2 separate regions of the Homo sapiens genome follow, and region 2 is linked to region 1. Evidence: promoter capture Hi-C in 16 types of primary human blood cells and fetal thymus (Javierre and others, 2016). All regions are on one chromosome and are shown on one strand. Each heading gives the region's core, a stretch centred on a gene start or on the middle of the fragment in contact. The rest is flanking DNA. Distances are from core to core; before and after follow the strand shown. Region 1 holds the start of P2RY12 (purinergic receptor P2Y12). Region 2 overlaps MED12L (mediator complex subunit 12L).

Region 1 (2,700 bases), core at 141-2,640:
CTTTCATGTCTTCATATAAACTCTCCCTTTATTTGTACCACAATTTTCCCTACCTCCCAGCTAACTCTTAATCCTTCAAAATGACTCGTGTCAATTTTCCTGGGGACCCTCTATTCTATCCCCTAATACTCTCTCTGTACCATGTCACACAAATCTCATTACACTGTAATTGTCTGTCTACTTCCCCCTTGAGGGTAGGAACTCTGTCTTTCATCTTGGTGATTGTGGAATGTCGGTGGTTGCTTACTGTTCATTAAAAGAGTAACTGACCAATTTTCTCATATTTTAGAGAACCATCTTTAATATCTTATATAAAACAAATGTCCATTAAATACTGCTTGATAGGAATAGAGAATATCCTAACAATTAAAATAATTTTTATTTGAAATAGCTTACTACAGGAAGGTTTTTTTTTTTTTTTCCCCCCCCAGAGACAGGGTCTCACTTTGTTGCCCAGGCTAGGGTGTAGTGGCTATTCACAGGCATGAGCCTAGCACATTGCAGCCTTAAACTCCTGGCTTCAAGCAATCCTCCTGCCTCAGCCTCCCAAGTAGCTGGAACTAAAGACATGTGCCACCATGCTCAGCTTACAAGAAATTTTTCATTGATAAATATATTCTGCTTCTAAATCTGAAGTATAATCAGAACTTATTTATGCAATTTTTTTTTTACACTAAGCTTTTACTTAGTTTTCTCTTGGTAGGTTTCCAAAAATTTACTTAAATTCAGGGAAACATTTTAAGTCCTTTAAACATATAAAACGTAGATCTTCAAAGATATGACCTCTTTATATGATAATGCCAATGACTAAGTACACTTAGAAGACAAGCATATGCCTTAAAAACATCAACAGCAAAATTAATATATTTTATATATCCTATGGTAAGACAAAAAAAAGTATTTCATCTTTTGTAAATAAATTTATATATAAGAAAAAACATTCACTCTTGCCTGTTTTTTATCTATAGAGTCAAATCCAGCAATTTTGTTTCCTTTTGTGTCAATCAAGGAACCCATAGGTTCACAAGTGATGACATCACATGTCTGTTTCGGCAAAGGTAGTAACTGTCGAACTTTGTCAATACTTTCTGATCGCTTGTCTCCTAGCTCTTTCTAAAGAAAAAAGAGAGAGAGAGAGAGTGAGAAGTGGGACAGAAATTACAATGAAGGCAAAAGTTAACCAGAAGGAAGTTCCCCTATGAAACATTTCCCTTTTTATAGCTTAGCGCATGTTCTTTAACCCTGAACATGTTCTACAAGGCAGTTCCAAATAGAGCAATGAGTGTTTCATTTCTTCTATTTAAGTAGAAAATAGAACACATACAAAGGCACTGTTGTTACACAACAAACATCATAGTGCTGAAATGACAAAAATCCAGGGTAGTGATCACAATCAGAAGACAGGAGCTGCAGAACAGAACACTTTCTCATGTCCAGGGTCAGATTACAAGGTAACCATTGATTTATTTGATTGGTAATGCATCAGATTTATTTGGTTTCTTTTTTGCACTGTTTTCTTACAATTTTTTTTTAAAGGAGTCTGTTAGTGGTCGGTCAAATGAATCGATTTATAAATTTCAATGCAGATGGCTATTTTTTCAATTACACGTGCCAGTCCAAGCATAGAGTTATCCTAAATCTATCTAATGTTAGTATTCTGGTTATATATTTAACAGTGGATTTCTAAAGTTCTTTAAAAAATTAAACATGTTTTATAATGTAATTGTTTTCAATAAAAAATAATCAAGGTTATGTGCATGTAACTTCTGGGTACTAATAAGGTTAGGTGAAACAAATAGCAAATAATCACATTAAATTAAGTTGAATACAATTAATAACATTTAATGAGTAATAAATTAAAATGCACTAGATAATAAATCCATAAACAACTTGAGCTCATAATACAGGCTGATCTCAAACTTACTTTCAGTTTCTTTACTAAATTCATGTATGCACGCTTGTTCTCTTCAGATCCCCCAGGGGATGCATTTGATAGGTCAGAGGCTAACGTTCCATTGATTAAAACACCCAGCATGTCAAGAACTGTTGTGAATAATTCACTAAGAAAGAAAATAATTATTTTCATCTTAAAGTGAAACTGAAATACACTTATTTAACTGAGTATTTTTATTCAAGGCACAGAATTTTTAATAGCATCCAAGTAAATAAGATGTGGCAGAAATCGCCATCAGTATATCAAAGCTTATACCATGCATACATGTAGCAAAATCAATGTGAAGTGATAAAAACATACTTGTTAGTGTGCATGTCAACAGTTCCTGAAGTAATGATCTGAAGGAGTAGCAGGGCCCAGTCTGTAGTCCACTGGGTGCTCCTCTGCACCGTGTCAAACATTCCTCCTACCTAGCAGACAAAATACAGTAAGATATTTGCATTCTGTAAAACAGAAAGAACACCCCATTGCTTTATGTTATCAAATTTTGATTGTTTTTTATTTAAAAAAACAAGGGATGCTCTAGTTTATAGATTACCTTATCTTTTCTCTTTTACCTACATGTTTATCACTATTTTTAGTTCTTTCAGCACAGTTCAGTCATTCAAACATTAACTAAAATGAAGAAGGGACGTGAGTATCTGAATGTGGGCACCAATAAACTTAGCTTTCTTTTGTTCCAAATCTTTTATGATGTCCAGTTTTATGATGCAATTATAGTTGAATTAAACCTGAATAATGTCAAA
Region 2 (2,700 bases), core at 143-2,642, 190 kb after region 1:
TTTTTTTTTTTGTTTGTTTTTTTGAGACAGTTTTGCTCTTGTTGCCCAGGCTGGAGTGCAATGGCGCAATCTCGGCTCACTGCAACCTCCACCTCCCGGGTTCAAGCAATTCTCCTGCCTCAGCCTCCTGAGTAGCTGGGACTACAGGCATGTGCCACCACGCCCGGCTAATTTTGTATTTTTGGTACAGACAGGGTTTCTCCATGTTGGTCAGGCTAGTCTCAAACTCCCAACTTCGGGTGGTCTGCCCGCCTCAGTCTCCCAAAGTGCTGGGATTACAGGCATCAGCCACCGTGCCCAGGCTAAACTGTCAGTTTTTAAGCAATTGTCTCAAGTTCTCGTCATTTTCTATAACTTCCTATCACCACCTCCATCTTTTTTGCCTTGAAAATTTCAGTAAGTATCTGGAACAATATCCAAAATACCAGAATTTGGCAGAAAATTATAAAGTCACACTCATAGCATAAAATAATTTGTTGAAAAGGACACTTCTACAACATTTGAGAAACAGAGATTAAACTTTTAATTAACTGAAATGAAAATATGTGTTGTGACTAACAAAGAATTTCCCATTATGAATAAAAGAGTGATATAAGTAATGAATGATACATTAGGGAAAAGACGATTCTTAGAATGAAAACTCAGCTGACACTTAAAGGTCAAAACAAGTCCAGTTTTGAGACACAATGTTAAAGAAAAACTAGAGATTAGAAACATCTAGAACTGAAAGTATATAATTCCAATCCTATGAAAAATGTTATGGCCTGTCAGATTATTTTCATTACAGTTTTATAGTATCCAAAGGGAAATTCTGGAAGACATAAGAAGCTACAGTGTAAATATCTTTCCTGCTCGAGAAGTAGAGATAAACAACCACTGGGGCAAAAGAATACAACAAAAAGCCATCACTCTTCTACCACTACATGACCCATTTGAACATGGTTCCCAGTAGAGTTTAGTTTCTGGGGGAGTGGGGCATCATATCCAGGGCCATACCTCCATTTTCACATCATGGTCCTTTGAATAGTGTTCATCTGCATTTTCCCCTACTGGTGACCGCGGCCGAGTTGAGGCAGTGACTGACAAATCTCCTCGAGATATGAGGGTACACATGTATGCGTCATGGGAGAAGACATCATGGCGGATGAACTCGCAGAAGAGCAGCACCAGGTTCACAAATTCCACCTTTTCACATTCACTGTTTGGGTCCGCTATAGAGAAACAAATTCAATCAAGAATTCCTTGAGCAGGTGGTAGAAAAAAACTAATTACTAAGGCTTAATATTTTCATTACTTTTCACAATCAACTTTTCTGGGGAAAAAAAAGATCTATTGGAAGATTTACTGAGGCACTAGCATTTTGGGCAGAACTGACAGGCAGGTTTTGATTGTCCCACCATAACTGAAAAATATCCAGTATGGTAAACATGATTACAAGTTTAAAGATAGTAGTCCTGGCTGGGTGCAGTGGCTCACACCTGTAATCCCAGCACTTTGGGAGGCTGAGGTGGACAGATCCCCTGAGGTCAGGAGTTCGAGACCAGCCTGGCCAATATGGTGAAACCCCGTCTCTACCAAAAATACAAAAATTAGCTGGGCATGGTGGTGGGTGCCTGTAAGCCCAGCTACTCGGGAGGCTGAGGCAGGAGAATCGCTTGAACCCGGGAGGCGGAGGTTGCAGTGAGCCAAGATCGTGCCACTGTACCCCAGCCTAGGCGACAAGAGCGAAACTCCATCTCAAAAAAAAAAAAAAGATAGTAGTCCTGAATACCCATTCAAGTACTAATGTAAAAAAGCAAAATTTCAGGATCAGAAAAAAAGACAGCAGGACTAGACTGCCGTCCTCTGGTTTTACTAATAAAACAGTTCATGACTGCTTTTTCTAGCTTGAGTGGGTCTGTGCAATTGTGAGAATATGGGTGCACATTTTCAAAGGAGATTTTACAATTGAACCACAATTTAAATGGTGTTTGAAAAAAATGTAAGCAGGATCCACGGAAAAGAAAAAGGAACAACTGAATAAAAAGAACACAAAGATGGAGCTCTGCAGATTATTTTTATTCATAACTAGCCTATTTAACTCACATTATGACTTTCAATATTGTCACTGCACTCTAAAGTTTTGTGACTACACCTTTAAGATAAGATTCAAAATTTGTAAGATGAACCTGCAAAGCTCAATCCTTGGTACCATCACATTCACAAACACCAATAGGAGACACATTTATCCAAGGAACATTAAGCTCAGTTCCCTAAACCTTGAACCTAAATGTTTCCTCTTGCTCACTACCAAACTCGGTGATGAGCAGCCTCTTTCAGGGAACAGATCAGCTTTTTCTGACAGACAGTAAATGAGATGAACTAGCAAAGACACAGGAGTAAGGAGTTTTTCCTAAAGAGAGAACAAGAATGGGGAAGAAACGAGGGAAGCAAAGGGCAAATGTCTGTCTCCCCCAGGGTACAAGGTAAGTTACAACTGCTAACTTCATGCCTGACAATATATTTTCTGCTATCAGGGATCTCTTCAGTCCTTTCACTTTTCTGCTTCCTTTTCCATGAATTACTCCTCCCTATGTTCCAACCACTAGATTAGCTCCAGTGCTTGCTCTCCTTCTAGCCTGGAAGCCACCAAATAACTGAGAGAGCCCTTTGTCTCAAAGAACCTCACCTGCAGGTCTCACTCAGGCCCCTCCTCAGAGG

The links. Contacts are between HindIII fragments. The CHiCAGO score rates a contact against its expected background, and 5 or more counts as called.
Region 2: a fragment that was not itself captured here is called in contact with the fragment with the promoter of P2RY12 in region 1 in 1 of 17 cell types (megakaryocytes); the score reaches 5.8 in megakaryocytes.

The regions. Positions count from the first base shown.
Region 1 is chr3:151,383,443-151,386,142 of GRCh38, reverse strand. P2RY12 (purinergic receptor P2Y12) reads left to right here and starts at 1,390. Exons shown (of 3, transcript NM_022788.5): 1 at 1,390-1,451. It overlaps MED12L (mediator complex subunit 12L), which reads right to left. Exons shown (of 45, transcript NM_001393769.1): 34 at 2,255-2,364; 35 at 1,925-2,060; 36 at 952-1,113. The HindIII fragment of the contact is 1,524 bases long and covers 681-2,204 here.
Region 2 is chr3:151,189,228-151,191,927 of GRCh38, reverse strand. MED12L (mediator complex subunit 12L) reads right to left here. Exons shown (of 45, transcript NM_001393769.1): 14 at 997-1,211. Among named protein-coding and RNA genes, the nearest start is that of GPR171, 13 kb to the left of the region's middle. The HindIII fragment of the contact is 3,739 bases long and covers 1-2,700 here.